6 separate regions of the Homo sapiens genome follow, and all the other regions are linked to region 2. The links are contacts of gene promoters, found by promoter capture Hi-C in blood cells and fetal thymus (Javierre and others, 2016). All regions are on one chromosome and are shown on one strand. Each heading gives the region's core, a stretch centred on a gene start or on the middle of the fragment in contact. The rest is flanking DNA. Distances are from core to core; before and after follow the strand shown. Region 1 overlaps FOXF2-DT (FOXF2 divergent transcript). Region 2 holds the start of NRN1 (neuritin 1). Region 3 has its middle 17 kb from the start of TFAP2A-AS2. Region 4 holds the start of FOXCUT (FOXC1 upstream transcript). Region 5 overlaps GMDS (GDP-mannose 4,6-dehydratase). Region 6 holds the start of TFAP2A-AS1 (TFAP2A antisense RNA 1).

Region 1 (2,994 bases), core at 237-2,736, 4.6 Mb before region 2:
GGCCCCAGTGTCTTCCATTGTACATGAGCTTCACCTAGAAACCAGAGGAGTGATGATGTGGCCATGCACAGTTCCAAGTGTGTATCCTTAATGCTCATAATCCCAGAGGGAAAAGAGTGAGCCTCTCTCTCATTGCCTTTACTAACAATCCCAGGGAAACACTCTATGTGACAGAGGGTGACCCTGTGCCTAGACTTGGCCAAGTACTGTGGCCAGAGGACAGGTAGAATAGACATGCATAGGTCACATGACTCTCTACGTCTAGGGTGTCATAGCAGTGTGGCTACACTAGGACAACACTGAATGGGAGAAACAGAGTTCTCTCTAAGGATACGAAGATGCTCTCACCAGTAGAAAGAAGAAATGTCAGGCAAACCAAAGAACCAAACATCTGCAAAATTCTCCAGATGTAGCAAGATATTTACATTCATATCCTATCTTCCAGCATACTGCCCTCTTTCCAAATTCCCCATGATTAATGACAATGTCAAACTGCATTGGCCTTAGGGTTGACTTTCAATCTTCCATGACTCCACTTTTCTCAGTTCCAAAGAGCAAGGGTGACTTCTACCTCTTCCTCTTTAAAAGATTAATAGGAGATTTGCCAAGTTGTTTATGTTTTCTAGAAAAAACAGTGAATAGCAAGTAAACGCTGTGCAGGTTATCACATAAAAAGAAAAATAAATTTAGAATCTTTAAAAATAAATTAAATTCTCAAAGTAATATTTAAAACTTTAAAAACTAGTTAATATTTATGATATTTTGTTACATAAGAAAAATAGGCTAAGGAAAGATGGGGAAAGAATCCTACTTTTGTAATGTGATTATATTTATATAAAGAAAAACAAAAAATAAATCATGGCTTCATGATGACTCTCATGGACCAAGGCACTTATGCCTTCATGGGTCACTTCATCCCCAAAATATTAAAAATCGCATATTTTTGAAGGTGTTACTATAAAGACAAATATATTAATCTTACTTAAAAAAAAAAAGAAGTCATTTAAATGGCAGTCTTGAAGGTAACTTGAATGATGCATATGAACTCCTTGGCATTATTTGAGTAACCTTATTTCCTCTATTTTCATCAATTGAAATTCCACTTTTAACTCAAGGTATAAAAGTGAATTGCGCTATGTCATTGTGCTAGGAGAGTTTTAAAAAATTAGAAAAGTGAATGAAAACTTGAAGAAAAAGTGCAAATAATAAAGGCCAGAAGAAATGTTTTCAAGTGGTGTTATGACACTGCCAGCTCCAATTCTCACTTTGTAGAGACATCCAAAGTCTAGACATCAATCAGTTTTGGCCTCAAAATAATATCCTAGTTAGAAAGGGTTCAGGAATACATTATAATGAATTTGAGACACCCAAAATTGCTTATTATTTTTCCATTGCTATGAAATTACACATTCTGGTGTTAGCAAATAAAAACAAAATGAAACAAACAAAAAGAATAAATTTATTCTCCAGTCATGCTTACCTACTCTATACAGCTATATTCTTTCCCTTTTTATTAAATTCCTATTGCCATAAAATGCTTAACTCAACTGCATATTTTTTGTAACTGATTTACAAATGGAAAGGTTTCCTGTCTTGGATCTCTTCTGAGAGCCCTCCAACTGCAGAAAAGTTTTCCATAGGTAGAAACCACAAAACAAAAGAAGTTTATTAAATTCCTTTTTAGCCGAGCTCAGTAAGGCAGATTCCCTCAGGCCAATGCCAACATACGCCCTTCCACCTACACCAAGCATCTTACCAGAGATGGGTGATGGATGCATAAACCTTCTTTCCAGATGGAAAATTCTCCTAAAGAGAATCTGCCACTCCTTGCCTCTTTCGCTTGTCCCTTTCTCTGCCACCAGCACAGACTGTCATTCTGTCCCCTCACTCAGACAGGCACGGCTACCCACAGGTTCTACAGAGTCCCCTGCCTCCCTCAGCCTCCATCCCCAAATCCTGTCTGCCCAACTGGCCTGCTTAGCTTTCCACACCCATTTTGTTCCAAAACATGGGTTTCTGGAGGTTTTGTTTATATTTTCGGGTCCCCAAACAGCCTTCCCTTTCAAGGGAGAAAAAAAACTTTAGGAGCCCCCCTCCCCTTCTGCTGAATGAAAAGCTGACATATGGTAACCGCTCACAGCTTCTCAGGTGCTTGACATATTTTATAATAGGTCTAGAGACTTGAAGACTAAATAGGTGAATATCTGGCTCATCAAGCAAGTCAGTCTTTTTTATTTTTTTATTTATATTTATTTATTTGTTTATTTTTCGAGACGGAGTCTCTCTCTGTTGCCCAGGCTGGAGTGCAGTGGTGGCATCTCGGATCACCACAACCTCCGCCTCCCGGATTCAAGCGATTCTCCTGCCTCAGCCTCACGAGTAGCTGGGATTACAGGCGCGCGCCACCATGCTGGCTAATTTTTGTGTTTTTAGTAGAGACGGGGTTTCACTGTGTTGCCAGGCTGCTCTCGAACCCCTGACCTCGTGATCCGCCCGCCTCGGCCTCCCAAAGTGCCGGGATTACAGGCGTGAGCCACCGCGCCCGACGGGTCTGTCTTTTTTAAAGCCAAAAACTAGTCACCGCTGCAACACTGTTAGGATGCTGCTGCTGAAGGCCCCACCGGCATTCTCCCTCGCTAACGAAGAACCAACAAGGACCAAACGAAGGGGACATTTGCTTCTCCCAAAAATAGATTACCCATCCAACTGAGAAAATTAAAGGTTGACTCTAGTCTGTGTCCATGTTGATAGGGAAAGTTACTGCGGTACTAAGGTACCGTAGAAGAGACGGCCTAGTTGGACGTAAAAACACTTTGGCCACCAGCCTGGAGGTAAAACCCAAGCTACAAAAGCCAGTAATTAAAAGAAGAGTGAAAATGATCTGAGATAAAAGCTATTTTGTGCGGATCGTTTTAAGAGTTAAGAGTTTATGTGAATGGTTTATTTAAATGGCTATAAAACTGCAAAGGTGTTTATATATGTAAAATATGCATA
Region 2 (2,776 bases), core at 43-2,542:
GGATTTGTCTGCAAAGAATGCCACAGCCTGAACTGATAGGAGGTAACAATTCCGTTTCAGGAGTTTCTTTTTTCCCCCGTGTTGTCCATTCTATTAATAACCTGCTTCACTTTCACTTTTAGGCCACGTTAATTAATGTTCTGACCCAGTGTCGGAGAAGGGGGTTTTCTAGTGCCCTCTTCTATATCTTTTCTTCATTCTGGATGGTAAAAATGTGAACTTTAAAAAGACCCCTGACAGCGTAACTACAACTCAACATTCCTTAACATAAAATGGGGACTAAATAATTCCTTCCATAACCAATCCCAAACAAACAAAAATAACAAACACCCGACATGACATATTCCAAACACTTCTTAACCCTTTCCTATATATAAAATGCAGACACCAATGTGTAAAGTAGCAGGCAAATGCATCTAGAAAAGTATATCTACGTAAATTTGGCTGAATTCATCCTCTTCAATGGTAAGCATGTTAAAATATGTGGTCTGAAGTTCCCTATCACTCTCGATTTGCCCACCAGCCGGGTCTGCGGTGCCCGTGCAAACGCTGCAGCTAGGATATAGGGGGGAGGAGGGGCGGGAGAATGACAAAGTTCTAAATGCAGCAGTCTGAGCCCTGGAATATCTTTGCTTTCAGCACATAAACTTTCCAGTCCTGGCTGCCTAGCCATTTTATTCCTGCATTCACATTTCGACTCTTCAAAATCATATCTTGCAGTATCGCAGGGGCCAGTACATTGCCCCAGAGCGCACCAAACCTGGTATAAACCCAGAAAGGGAAACAAAAATGGATGTGTGCTCAGGAAAAAGGGGGAAAAAAACCGTGTCCAGAAAATGTCCGGCCGCACACATTTCCTGGCGAACATTTGGAATCTATAGCTTTAGGAAAAACCGATCTGGGACGCGCTAGTCCCCAGGAACTGATGCCCCCACCCTCGGGGGATTGCCGGCTTCTCCGCACCCTGGGGCGGCCGCGGACCCGCTAGTCCCCCTCCGCGCCTCGGGCCGGGGCAGGCTGCCTCCCGCCTCCAGCCTCCAGCCGGGCTGAGCGGCCACTTACCTATTTGCACCGCGAGGATCAGTGAAATATATCTGCCGTTCAACTTAAGTCCCATCCTACGTTTAGTCAAACCATTTGCGACCGCAGACCTTTAAATAGTTAGTTTAGAGAACGCGGGGGAAAGCCAAAAAATAGGCATTGCCAACAAGTTCCGGGAGCGACAGAGACTTTATGCACTGGGAAGGCAGAGGGAGGAGAGAAAGAGAGGGAGCGAGGAAGAGACAGAAAGAGAGAGAGAGAGAGAAAGAGAGAGAGAGAGAGAGGCTGAGGGGGGGGGGAGAGCTGGGAATGGTTCACTCCATTAGAAGGGGGCGGAGGAAGTACAGCCTCACGCCCACGAGCAGGCCTGACGTGGGGGATGACACGGAATGATTTTTTTTTTAATATAGACACCTTGGTAGAGAATCGCCATTTATAGTCATCAGAAGCTGGAATTAATCAGATATCTCCAATTAATGTGCGATCTGAACGAAATTTTGCCTCCCGGGGGTGAGCACTTTCCTATTCTAGCGGTCACCCCTGCCTCTTCCTCGTTCCGGGGGCCCCCCAGCCCCGCCGCCTCCCTGCGCAGAACAGGGGCTCCCCCTCCCTTCCCCGCCAGGAGCTGGGGAGTCCTGGCGCGCCCACTCGATTGTTTCAACCTGCTCCCCCTCCTCCATCAGCACCACAGAGAATCCAGCCCGCTCTCTACGATGCAGGGGGGTTTAAAGGAGCGGGAGAGGGAAAAACAGCTAAGCTAGCTCGATTAATTCGAAAGCGCTCCTCGGCCGCCCGCCCCCTGCGCTTGCCTACCCTCTTTTTCTCCAACCCAGCAGCTGAGCTCTGGGCGCAGCCTGGAGCGCGTGAGCACGCAGCCCGGCCCCCCGCACGAGCACACACACACACACACACACACACACACACAAACGCGCGCGCGCACGCCCGCCAGCCGCGCCGAGCGCCCCCATGCCCGCCCGCACACAAGGCACGCGAGCGCGCGCACACGCCCAGGCCCCGGGGGTTTGGTTTGCACACGTGGGGCCCCAGAAATAAACACCGAATGTCCTCTGAATTTTACCCACCTGCGATGCCCCAGCGGGCCAAAGGCCGCTTCAAGGGACACAGCGACACCTGTTTTAGGGGGCGAGTAGGGCACCGGGGAAGGAGCCTCTGATAAGACAGTTTTCGGATACTAGTGATTTACCAACCAACTCTCAGCGCTTTAGGAAATTTCCAAGGCAAGCGCTGGTGTGCGGACTTCTTTCTAATCTTGATGCGCCTCTTGGGCTTATTTGTTGGGCTACACACACACGTACCCACACGCACACACGTACATCACGTACGCACACGCACACCCGGACCCACACACACCTGCACTGTCTTTTGATGCTCAGGCACAGACCCTGTGTAGGTGTAGCCTACCCTGCAACAAAATACTTCTGCAGCTGGCTTTGTGCTAGGTGCAAGCTGCTATCGACGACAGCTTGAGTCAAAACCGAAAAACTAACAGGGCTATTTCCTTTCTAAACGCCTTTAAGCTCTGGTTTTCTTCCTTTCTTCTGCACCAAACAGAAAAAAAAAAAGTCTAAATTGTAGCGTCTTTAATAAAATGCTAAAGAAGGCATTGGCCAGCTTTAATCCTTAAGCCTGTGGAGAGAAAAAAATGAAAACGACCCCCCAAATTTTGCCAAACTACACTAGAGGACGTCAAGCTGTCAAACTGTAGAAATGCACA
Region 3 (2,951 bases), core at 299-2,798, 4.4 Mb after region 2:
CCGCATTAGGGAAACTGAGGTACTGCTGGCATGGCTGTCCATACGTTTGCTAAATCAGCTACTCCAGAGGCCTAGAGAAGGGAGGGAACGCCCTGGGTTTTCCAGAACAAGACACAGATCTCTCCGTAGCCTAAAGAAAGTCCTTGCGCCCCAGGTCTGAAAGCCAAGGGGAGCCTGTGTTTGCTCCCAGCGGGGTCGCCGGCCGTCTCCACAACCCTTGCTTCCTACAGGCAGAATTGAATGCAGGAGCTGGCTGTCTTCCCGCCTGGGGTGGGCTCTCAATTCAACTGGACCTCGGGTCCTGTCAAGGAAAGGAAACCAGGAGGAGGAGGAGGAGGGAGTTCAGGGAGGAGTCCTCTCCCCCAGGGATGGGCTGCCCAGAGTTTGCTGCATTGCATCTCAAATGGCTCAAATTCTTACCTCCCCAGGAGAGAAAGCAGAGGGGGAATGTAAAATTGTAGGCTGCTTTTCAGAATGGCAGCCTCAACTTTAACAAAAAAAAAATGTGTTTGTGTCTCCACCTTCAGACACACAGACATCCACACTAACTGAAAATGAACTGTTGGAATCAATTTCCTCGGAATACTCAACTTTTTTTCTATCATATTTCAGCAATGGACTGAACAGTTATAGCTGGTTGATTCAATTTAGTATTTGCATAACCACGAGAAGAAGGTGGCTTTGCAGACTCAATGAATAGGTCTCTTGTTTGTTGTGTGTGTGTTGTGGGGTTGGATTTTTAAATACATGTGGGGAGGAGGAGGGCATCTCTAGGGCTATGCTGCTGCCCCAGGAGTCAGAAACTGAGAAGCTGCTTCTGGGCTGATGACAGTATTGTTTCCTTACTCCTCCAAGTTCTCTCTCCCTTCCCTCATATCTACCCCTGGAATCCTCTACATTGGAAAATTCACTCATTGGATCTTTCTTTTGTTTGTTCTAGGCAGCTCTGCATGTAAAGACAAACTGCTGTAGTAAACCGTTTGAAATAATTCCGTGGCAAGGAGAGATGGCAATGCTGTTTTACACTTTGCACATAGAAAAAGGGACAAGCAGATTTTCAGGGCAGCCTTCAGAAATAGAGCCAGTTTTAATAGGATCCCAACCCGTGCACTAATTAAATATTTCACAGCTCCCAAAGTTAATGTGTTAACATTGGAACTTTTTTTCCACCAAATCATACAAATTGGCCCTCTGTAACATCATCCTCCCACCCCAACTACTCCCTCCTGTACTCACCCACACACATACGCACTCTGTGCCACAAACTCCTACCAACCGACCTGTTTTCTGAATGGCATTACAAAGAATTTTGTTAAAGAAAAGTCAGACTAATTGCTGCCAGAAGACCCGTCTCTTAGAGAAGTCTGGTTTTCATAAGCCAGATTCAGTAAAGGTTGTGGTTAAATCTAAGCCGAGTAGAAGGTTCTTAAAGTTTTCTCAGCAAAGAGGGAAAAACAAAGAAACAGTAAGTTCAGCCAAAATGCTCAGTAAGGGGAGGAGGGGAGATGATGGGTAGGAGGGAAATTCAAGAGGGCTCTCTCAACTCTTGTTTCTAGATTCCTCTCCTTAGAAGAGCTTTCTTCAAACTTAGTAACACCAATTGAGATGGTTTTCCTAAGTAGCCCAGCATCGCAGTCACAGGCCAGTGACTTGATTCTCTTGAAATGGCACTAATTTCCAAGGGCTGGGAGTTATACTAGAGGGTATAGCAAGGGATTTTCCAGTCCCAGGATTCCCCGAGGCACCTCCCTGTTCAGTTAGCACCAGCCTTCCTTTCAAATCTCCTGATCAAGTTAGTTGCAAAAAGTCCCTGCAGGAACAGGCAGGTGGATTCTCCCCACTTCTAAGCTATGTCACTGAGGAACACAGGCTTTCCCAGAGCGTGTCAGGGACTGCCACTCCAGCCTTCCCTCCCAGCTCTCCCCCTGGCTTTACCTGAGCTAAACTAGCAAGATGCTGCAGAACCTTATAGAGCGCAGAGACGGAAAGCAGTGGTGGAGGTGAGGTTTGGAGAGACCTTCATCTCTTTGAGTGTTTGAAAAGAAAAATCCCTCCAAGAATGGTCTCATTTAATAATGAGGCTGGTTTAATTTTCGAAGTTTCTCATCAGAACTTTAACCTATGGTTTAATAGGTGCAGTCCCATGACTGGTTAGAGATTCCCTATAACTCATTATCTCCTAATAATGGGTCTCCCCCAAGCCCACCTTGTTCTCATGGATCCAAGAAGCTGGAACCATCTGATCATGTCTCATGTTGCAAGAAGAGAAACCCACTCAGTGTCCCAGTCTCTGAACTTCATGGGAATCTCCAAGATCATTCTGACTTGAAGCAACATCCTCAAGGTTAAGACTCAACACGCCCATGCTCCCTGATATTCCATGGAAATAGTTACCCTTTTTGGAACCATTATCTTGGGTGCTTCCATTCAACTGGCTATGGAGTATGGGGGTAGGAAACAGAATATGCAACAACTACATTATATTGAGTATAGTCTCCCCCAGCGGAGGGTTCTCATAGCCCTTGCCATTCTGGTGGTTAGTATTTAACTTATTTTTTCCTTTGAAGATTACTGCTTCCTTCTGAATCCATTGCCCACTCCCACCCTCACCCCCAGGTAACTATAGGGATGTGGAAATGAGGGCTGGAGGAGGTCTTGGTGTTACTGAGTCTTTCTTTTATTCTGTAATTACAAAAAGATCATAATATAAGCAAATGAATAAAAATTTAAAAATCACTCTTTCTCTTGGCAATTCTTGTGGTTGGGGTTTTGAAGGATGTTATCCATCCTTTACTGTTTTATAACCATAATGAAGTGATTTCTCGTTCTTAAGACATGAAGCTACTGAGCTGTGAAATGTACCCCATTTTCCAGTTTTCAGGATGAGTCAGGACAGCCTTTGCTCCAAAGTCCTATCACTTCTCATCCCACAGCCTGAACACTTTAGAGAA
Region 4 (2,891 bases), core at 30-2,529, 4.4 Mb before region 2:
AGTGTCCGTGTTTAAGATTGGAGAAACATGGAATAAATTTGCCTCTCATTAGCGTGCACACTCTGCCCCAAACCCCTTTTTTTGTGGGGGGAGGTGCTGCTCCATCTAGTGAGTGGGGAGATTTTCTAATTCCCACTGGGGTCCTTGTGACCCCAAGCCAAAGCGGACCTTTAGTAAATGTAAATTCTGCATTTCTCTGCTGCCTTCATTTATAGTCAACCCGGTCGGACTAAAAAGAACTACCAGGGCGACCATAACTAAACACTACAGAGCAAGTGCCTCCTTTCCTCGCAGACATTTATTTCTGTGGAAATTCGCCTGTTTGCCATAGTTTGTCTTTTCTTATTTCTTCACTTCCAAACTAAACAGCCCTAATCCGAGCGCATACCTCTCTGTGTGCCAACGTTTCGCCTGTGTCTGTGTCTGCTGCGTATGTAAATACGGGCGAGCCTCTCTGTGGGCAAAGCCATAGGTGTGCATGGTCCTTGTTCCCATAGGCGACATCGGGGTGTGTGATTGCACGTGGGGGTGTGAGGCCTCGCCAGCACCGCCACTCACTGGTCCTGTTCTCGAAACCGGTTCTTTGGAGGCTCAGTTTTTGGTAATTAAGACTAAGGAGTGTTTAAAAAACAGAAGTACATTTTCCTGGAAACCAGCAGTCTTTATTTGCAACTTTTATTGGCAAACCTGGCTGCCAGTAAATACATTCCTTGGCATCTCCCACAATGTAATTCACTGGATGGAGCGGCCTTGCTTTTTCTGTAACGTGTACGTCAATTAAAAGGGCCGCCTGGAAGGAATGCGTAGCGGTGGCTGAAAGCCCCAGTCTCGGGTCACCTCCCTCCACTCCAGGAACAAAAGCGTCCGTGGTCTGTGCCTGGAAGTCTGAGAGGGTCTCCCCGATGGGGCTGTTCCCGCCCGGACCCTGAGGGATGAGAGTTGCAGCCTAGAAAACCAGGTGCCAGGCCCTGCGGGGTCCCACGCGGGCGGCGCGGTCTTCCCCAGGCCTCCTTCTCTGGAGACCCGGTTCCCAGGGGACGCTGTGCGGGGACAGGCGGAGCCGGCCCTTGGAGCCCGGCGCGGGCAGAGGCGCCGCGGAGACAACGCCTCCGACGGCAGGGGGCGCTCGTAGCACGCGCAGTGCGCGGTGCGGGCGCCCAGGACGGCTGCCTGGCCCCGGGTTCCCGAGGCGCGGGACCTGCCGGGGTGAGGTGCCCCCAGCCTGAGAGCCCCAGCCTGGGTCGGCCAAGGGGCCTCCGGGCTTCCACATCGTCCCTTTTTCTGCTGACGCTCGCGGGGAAGCGGCGGGAAGCCTGTGAGGGGCGGCCTGGGAGCAGACGGACCACCAGGTCACCGGCGCGCGCTGCCAGGCGCCGACCCACTCGCGAGGACCAGCGGTTCCCGGAGGCGTCGGCCCTCAGGTCCTCGGGGGAGGCCGGCTGCACCGAGCCGGGTGTCGGCCTTGTCCCTGTCCTGAGAGGTGCAAACACCGGCCCCGGCCCAGGCCCCCGGGGCTCCTGCCCAGAAGGCTCAGAGCTGGGGGCCGACCGCGCCTTACCCGCAGGAGGCCCGGCGGTGCGTCCGCGTTGGTGCCACTCCCCGGCCGGGGTGAGGGACGTCGGAAGGAAGGTCCCAGGGCGCAGGGTTCCGCGAAGGGAGCACTCGGAAGGAAGGCTGGCTGCGGCCCCGGCGCCTGGGTCCGCTGCGGCGCCGGGCCGGAGACCTGGGAACAGCCAGCCACCTGCAAGGTTGCAGCCCACCTCACCCCGCCGGCGGCTCCGGGGCTGTCTGTGGGTCTGTCTCACGGGGCAAAGCCTTTCTTCCCACACCCACAGCCAAGGCGCGTCCGTGCAGGGGCACACGCCTTCTGCTCCAGCCCCAGGAAGGCGCTTTCGCCCTGCAGTCCTCCGACGGCCGGCTCCCGCCGCACCGCGCACCCTGGCTCCGGCAGACTCTGGGGCCTGGGGACTCGCCCACCCTGCGCGGCGCGCCCCCCACATGAGCCGAGGTTGGGAGGCTGCGGGGCCTCTGTCCTCCCAGGCCGTGGAGTGCGGCGGCCGCTCTGAGTCCGCTGGGGACCTGGATGGAGAGAAACTGGGGCTCGTTCGCGCACACATGCACCATTTGTTCTTTCCGATCATCTATCCCTTTACGAATTTTATTTTTATTCCGGATTGTTAATGCAAGACGACAGTTTGAATCTCCATTTACCTCTGCCTGAACACAAGAAGCCCTGAGTCTTTTGAAGCCGGGCACCAAAGTTAAAGATTCACTTCCCGCATTCCCCATGGCCCCCTCTTGCAGCTTAGCTCGGCTCTGAGCCCCCGAAACGCCCTTCGAGGCGGGGGCTTTCCTGCCAAGGGGCGATAGGTGGGCCATCCCGAGGCGGGAACGATCAGGTAGGTGTTGGCTGGCTTTCTCCTGGGTGAGTAGTTAGGGGAACCGCCCCTCCAGGGGACTTAGATGACATTAAATTATCCCATCACACAAACTTCCCGTGGAGGTCTGCCCCCAGGAGGGCAACTATCGGATTAATCCAACCATGTAGACAGGCAATATGGATCACTTTGTCTTTAAAACAATCGAAAACCAAACGCTCTTTTCGTTTATTGTAGAAATTTTTCTACTAAGGACGGGGCTGAATTGGAGGGACTGTGCTGACAAATCCTCTACTTGAAAATCCCCCAGCTAAGGAGTATCTGCCCAAGGTCGCGGCCACCCAGATGTTCGGTCCCCACTCCTTCCTCCGCTGAAAAGTCGCACCGATGACTAACGTTGCCTGCCGGCCTGGTGGTTTGAAAACGAATGCCGGGCATTGATGCAAGGATATCCTCCCCTACCCCTGGGATTCTGGTCTAAGCAAAGGAGGCCGAATGGAGAACTAAGACAAT
Region 5 (3,111 bases), core at 235-2,734, 4.4 Mb before region 2:
TGCCACTGAAAGCCTTTCCTGCTTATTTTCTTCAGACTTCCCTGAAACTTGGCAGGTGGGGAATTTGTTCTAGATTCATGATGGTCGAGAGGGCAGGGGTGGGACCTGCTTTGCCCTGGGTTTGGAGCTCACCTTCTCTGCTGAGCCTTCTAGAGCAGAGGCTGTCTGGATCCTGCTGAATGTCTGCACCGTGGGCTTGCAATGGGGCTGCAGCAGTACACGCAGCGACTCTCGCTGTCGTTCTCATCATCCATCACTACTTTTTCAAACGCTTTGCATTTCGCAATACACTGAAGTACCAGTTTCCTCCCCAGAGTGTTAATAGTACTAAAACAAGTTATTTCTGCTGGCCCTAAAAGTCCATATACAGATTCTTCAGGAAAAGTAGAATACAAAAAGTAGTAATTAGCAATTTAACATAGCGCTACAAGGAAATAGCAATATAAGCAGAAAAACGAAGTAATTTATTTTTCTTTCCCCTCCCTAAATAAACTTGTATATATTTCTACAGGCTTCTATTTTGCTATAAGCGTCACACAAAGATACTCATTCTTTTTCCCCAGAGGAAGCTGTGCAATGTGGAGTCATGCAGCCCATCCCTCCCCTCTCTCAATCCTATAGCGGCTAGACGGTGTGGAGAAACATGGTTATTGTTTAATCACATCACACTGGCTGTAAATCAACCAGCACGACATAGGATGCATTTCATGGCTGTGAACTCATAGTCAGCAAAACCCTAAAACCCAGTTTGGCTTCAAATAATCTTGGTAGGCTTGGGAAATGGAGCTTTGTATTGTAATTATGTTTCCTGTAGTTTTCTACAAGTAGCTCACAATATAAAAACAACCAGGGAACTACAATTAAGGAAAAAGAAAAATGTTTTTCAAAGGCTTAGAAACAGACCTTGCTACCATACACTGTAAAAGTATTTCATTGAAACCAGAGACGCACCCAGTTAAACTTCTCAATTTAGTTTTGAGCCTAGCTCCAATACTGCAGTCTAGCTGCTTCCTTTAACCTTCTGCCAAGGCTCTGTCTCCCTGAAATTTAATTAGACCAAGAGACCTTGGGAAGAAAAAGGATGAGGTCCCCTCAGAACAAAACATTGGCTCTCTATGCCAGCTGTTCCTAGGCTGACATCTGGACTGGGCAGTAAGCTTATGTTCCAATCAACTTTTAAGGAAAGACTACGAGCATCCCAGCTTGTTTTACACTTAACTGTTCCTGAAGGAATTTCTTACTTCTTCCCATTGTGTCATTTATAGAAAAGATATAGTCAATGGTTCATCCTGCAAGGTTCTAGGCACAGGACATACTTAAAGGGTGGCGTGGGGAGGGCCTGTGTGGGAAAGCGCACACAGCTCTAGAAGGAGAGCAAGGATGTGGATTCCCTTCCTTAAATAAGGCTTCCTCTGGGCTGAGAAGGAATTAGGTGGTGGCAAATGCTCATACAACGGGGTCCAAACTGCTGTGCTCAGATACAGAACTGTGAGGAGTGAGAGGGGAGCGTGGGCCATGATACACGTCCCTTTAATCTTTACCTCCCTCTTAAAGATTTTTGAACTTCCACAAATCCCCTCCAATAGGGTATAATCAGCTCCTAAGGACAAGAGAGAAGAATGAGCTTATCTACTGTGCTCTTTTCTTCTTTTTTGACAGTTCGTTTCCTTCATTATACATATGCTTACAGCCTTAGTATGACAATGGGGGCAAAAGCTGAATTAAAGTGATGATTTTATGTACAGCTTCCCAAAAGGACTTCCACCAGTGCAACTGGGTGGTCTGGAGCTTTTCTTGAAAAAAGAGAAAATAAAGCTTTGAGAAAAATTTAAAGTATTTCTATGTGAATATGACATTTCCTGAACTCTGGCTTCTGGTGTCTTCACTGTTTTCATTGCTATTCCTTAGGTGAACTATACGGTTTCAATATGTAATTTATAATTGTCAAATTCAATTAGGTTTCACTGAGCATTTCACAGCAGCAAAACAGCAGGAGCAATGTCTCCGTCCACACAGCCCTCCAGATTTCTGACTCACGGACTGTGTGTATTCATTTGACCTTCGGGAGTTGTCCTTTAGCTGTACCATCCAGGCATACATTTACAGAGCTGCAAACAGCAGCATGGAGGAGGGCATGTTTGGCTGCAGCCATTTTTTAGGCTTTCCTGGCTTACGTTCTTGTTAAAGTGAACTGATAAAGCGCCAGACCAAATGCTGGAAAAGTCATTAAGCCTGTTTCTGAGCCCACAGTAGTTAACGCAAACTCCAGAAAAGGAGAGACCATAGTGTGCCATTATCTTCTACCCTAACGACAGGTCCCTTTCCTCAGATCTCTCCCATCTAGATAACAACGCAGCTTTAAAATCACACTGGTTAGTTTTCATTCCTTCCCCCGATGTTATTTTGATCCTTCTTTAACACATTTATTGCCTGGGATCCTCCCACCTCCATATCACTTTCTCTAAAACCATTGTGGGGAATGCTATTCAACAGACTGTATCACATAGGATGATTTTTTGAGGTTCACAGTCTCATTTCATTTTCTCCCCTTTTCACTGAGTTTGCTTTGGGAAAACTTTAATATTTAGTTCAAACTAGGTGTTGGATGCCACATTTCCTCAACAGGTCTGCTTATAAGGTTTGCAAAGAACATCTGTTTAGGTGGAGAAATATTCTAAGAGTATGAGATCTTTTGGCAGATTATTGTTAAATTTCTAATGTACATCTTGGAAGAAATTGACTCTTGATGCCCTAAATAGGAGAAGATGTATGGACAGGGATGTTAATAAGGAAAGCCGAGACTGATGAAAGCCTTGGCGAAATATCTTCAGGAATTTAAGATACAGAGCTGTGAGGGGCGCTTAATATTCTTTTTTTCCCTTCTACTTTTCTTAGAAAAGCAAAATTGAGGAATAGCTCAGGTTCCAAGGGAATAAAAGAATGCCAGTGAATTTGGTTCTTGATCCAACTTTCTGCTAGTGTAGAGTGAATAGGAAAGCTTGACTCTTGGGGCAATGTTTCTTTTTCAGAAAGGCAGAGCTGCTAAACAACAACAAAAAGCCTCAGGAAAAAGCTCTCAAGTCTCACAGAGTATCCTAGTCAAGATTCCAG
Region 6 (2,764 bases), core at 161-2,660, 4.4 Mb after region 2:
TTCCTCTGTTAGGAGCCTTTTTCTCGACAGAGTCGATTTATGGTTTGGATAGGGAAAGGGGGACGTCAAGTCAAGGTTTAAAATAGAAAGATTCAGCCTTATTGGGTTTAAAAGAGAGAGGTGCACCCCGGGGCTGTGGCCCCCCCCCCCCGCCCCTTCCACCCCAGCCCCAAAGGGCAGAAGAAACGCCTGACTTTAGGTTTCTCTATTGCAATTCCCTTGCAAAACAAGCGAAGAGAGTTGATTCCAGAGACCGCGAACCCTCGGCGGTTCGGCCGCAGGTCCCGAGGGTAGGGGGCACACCGCGCTGCACTTTTCCTGCAGACAGTTTAAGCATCAAATGTTGAGAACATCTCGGGGACAAGTGAAGACTCAAGGAAATCAAGATGAACGTGGGGAGAAACACGCCTTGGGAAGCCGCGGCGAGGTAGGTCTGCGTGCTCGGAGAGGTCGAGCGGGGGCTGGGGTAGGGGGTAATGCACTCGATTTAGGGATGGAAAAGAGCGAGAGAAAGGCGGAAGGTGGGGTGGGGGATGCAAATGGAGAGGGTGTCCTGAAGGAAAGCTGGGCGTGAAACCCGAGGTTTCGGGCAGCTCCACGGCACCAGGTTTCCAGAATCCAATTCCTAAAGAAACAGCAACGGGGGTGGGGATGGGACTCACCATGGCTGAAAAACTGTGAACTAACATCTGCGAAGAGTCTGGGGTAACGAGTCAGGGTGGAAAAAAACAAGCAAGCCTGGAGCGCCCGGCTGCCCCGCCGCCCGAGCGCGCCCCACACAAAAGGCGCCGAGAGCCCCGCGCCACCCAGGACTCCAGTCACGGCGCCGACGCTCCCCGGAGCGCGGGAGCCCGGCTCGGATCCATCCGAACTTGAACCACCGATTCGCGCGGCGCCTTCAGCTGGTCGAACCCACGGTCTCTATCCTGCCGCGACTGGTTATGATTCAAAGTTCTTTAAAAATGAAAAACCCCAAAAAAGGAAAAAGGAAAAAGTATGTGTGAGTGTGTGGGTGCGTGCGTGTTCCTTAATCCGTGTCTCCCCCTCTTTTCTTAGCGGCGGCTTCGCTTGAGCTTCTAATAACCGCGCTGGGCAGCGTTCCTGGAGCCTCCTAATAGCAGATATTCATGACTATTAATATTACACGAATACTTAATAAGGGAAGAATGCCTGGAAATCGAGCGTGAAGCGGAGAGGCAACTCGCGCCGGAGCCGGCTCTCAATGCAGTCCATTGACGGGAGTCTCAGTGTAGCAAATCGGAGTGGGGAGAGGGAGCGCGAGAGACAAAAAGCGAGCGAGAGAGGGAGCGGGCGAGCGCGCGGGGGGCCGCGGCGCGGCGTCTGGCGAATCACAGGGAAGGGGCAACATTTTAAAAGGTTGCAGGGCATGCAAAAGTGAAAGAGAAAGAGGCAGAGAGGGAGACCGAAGGAGAGAGCGCAGAGAGGGAGAATGTGTCTGCGTGCGTGTGTGAGAAAGAAAGTGTGGGCGAGGGAGAGGAGCCCCGGGTGGGGAGAGGGGAGGGAGGGAAGGAGGGAGAGCCCGAGAGGAGGAAGGGAGGGAAAGAGGGAGGGAGGAAGGGAGGGAGGGAGGGGGAGGGGGCCCAGCCGGAGCGCACGGAGGGGGAGGCCGCGGGGGAGGGGGAAGGGGAGAGGAAGCGAGCGAGGACAATCAGACCTAAAAGGCTGGGGCAGACCTCGGGATGCAGCGGGGGTCGTGCGTAGCGGGTAGGAGCTGCTTGGGACCGCGTCCGGGCGCTCGTGGGGCTCTCGGCGCGGCAGGCGCTTCCCGGCCCTGTCTGGCCGCGGGCTCCGCCGCTTCGCAGCCGAGTCTGGGACTCGGGACTCGGCTGCCCGCTGCTGCGCGGCTCCTCCATGACCCGGCGCCCTGCCCGGGACCGGCCCGCTCGCTGCACTGGTCCTCTCCTCGGCCTCCTCTTGAGCTTTCCTCGGACAGGGGCACCGTGCGCTCCCCGGCCACCGTCGCTCTGCCCTCGGCTCTCTGGGGCCGGGGATTCCGGATCGGGAGCCGGGATGCGGGCCGGGGCGCGCACAGACGCTAGGCGGCCCAGCCCGGGCGCCGCTGGCACCGGCTCGCGGCTCCCGGCAAAAACCCGTCCGACTGGCTGGGCCACTCCCGCCTGACGCCCCCCCAGATGACACGACTAGCTCTCCCGGCGTGCTGCCTTTGCCAGTCTACCCGCCAGGTTGTCAGAACAAGCGGCACCTCGCCTCCTGCGTGTCCCTACAGAGCCCCGGCACAATCAGACTGCCCCAAGCCAGCTCCGAAACCCGAAATCCCCGCTCCGGCGCTTGCCCACCACGGCCAAAGTTGTGGAAACAGCTTTGACTTTATTCTCCTCTCTCTCTCATCTTTTTTTGCCTCGCTTACACACGCATTCACACTTGCCCCCACAGGATCCCTCTAGGGGTGCAAGTTCATCCCCCACCTAGCCACCCACCCCATCCAGTCGGCACCTAGAGCCGCACGGAGGTTCGGACCCCGCCCGCCGAGGGCGCCCACACCTGGAGCTGGGTTTCGGCCTCTGCGAAAGTGAAATGCCCAAGCCTCCGGCCAAAGCCCAGACCAGTACAGTATGAATTGTCCTATGAGACTGAGGGGTTCGGCTTCATTCCTACCTGCCCGCAAAGCTCGCCCCCAGCCTCGAAAACAAAGCGACTGGTCTGACGTGGGGTCCCTGCGCCCCTCCTCTAGCGCGACAGGACCCCCCCAGGGAAGAGCCAGTACCCGTGGGATGTCACCCCG

The links. Contacts are between HindIII fragments. The CHiCAGO score rates a contact against its expected background, and 5 or more counts as called.
Region 1: a fragment that was not itself captured here is called in contact with the fragment with the promoter of NRN1 in region 2 in 1 of 17 cell types (naive B cells); the score reaches 5.7 in naive B cells.
Region 3: a contact is called between a fragment that was not itself captured here and the fragment with the promoter of NRN1 in region 2, in 1 of 17 cell types (naive B cells). The highest score is 8.4, in naive B cells.
Region 4: a fragment that was not itself captured here is called in contact with the fragment with the promoter of NRN1 in region 2 in 2 of 17 cell types (total B cells and naive B cells); the score reaches 14.4 in total B cells.
Region 5: a fragment that was not itself captured here is called in contact with the fragment with the promoter of NRN1 in region 2 in 1 of 17 cell types (naive B cells); the score reaches 6.7 in naive B cells.
Region 6: the fragment with the promoter of TFAP2A-AS1 here is called in contact with the fragment with the promoter of NRN1 in region 2 in 2 of 17 cell types (total B cells and naive B cells); the score reaches 10.5 in total B cells.

The regions. Positions count from the first base shown.
Region 1 is chr6:1,374,975-1,377,968 of GRCh38, forward strand. All of the region lies in intron 1 of FOXF2-DT (FOXF2 divergent transcript), which reads right to left. Among named protein-coding and RNA genes, the nearest start is that of FOXF2-DT, 13 kb to the right of the region's middle. The HindIII fragment of the contact is 3,385 bases long and covers 1-2,994 here.
Region 2 is chr6:6,005,633-6,008,408 of GRCh38, forward strand. It overlaps NRN1 (neuritin 1), which reads right to left and starts at 1,293. Exons shown (of 3, transcript NM_016588.3): 1 at 1,063-1,293. The coding sequence starts at 1,117. The HindIII fragment of the contact is 16,379 bases long and covers 1-2,776 here.
Region 3 is chr6:10,385,731-10,388,681 of GRCh38, forward strand. No RefSeq gene overlaps it. Among named protein-coding and RNA genes, the nearest start is that of TFAP2A-AS2, 17 kb to the right of the region's middle. The HindIII fragment of the contact is 4,210 bases long and covers 1-2,951 here.
Region 4 is chr6:1,603,401-1,606,291 of GRCh38, forward strand. FOXCUT (FOXC1 upstream transcript) reads left to right here and starts at 2,131. Exons shown (of 2, transcript NR_125804.1): 1 at 2,131-2,399; 2 at 2,616-2,891. RefSeq lists silencers at 850-1,269, 1,320-1,389 and an enhancer at 2,691-2,891. The HindIII fragment of the contact is 5,314 bases long and covers 1-2,891 here.
Region 5 is chr6:1,625,985-1,629,095 of GRCh38, forward strand. All of the region lies in intron 9 of GMDS (GDP-mannose 4,6-dehydratase), which reads right to left. Among named protein-coding and RNA genes, the nearest start is that of FOXC1, 18 kb to the left of the region's middle. RefSeq lists an enhancer at 3,083-3,111. The HindIII fragment of the contact is 658 bases long and covers 1,156-1,813 here.
Region 6 is chr6:10,410,908-10,413,671 of GRCh38, forward strand. It overlaps TFAP2A-AS1 (TFAP2A antisense RNA 1), which reads left to right and starts at 1,411. Exons shown (of 3, transcript NR_033910.1): 1 at 1,411-1,460. The region is part of intron 1 of TFAP2A (transcription factor AP-2 alpha); the gene reads right to left. RefSeq lists a silencer at 1,651-2,010. The HindIII fragment of the contact is 20,769 bases long and covers 1-2,764 here.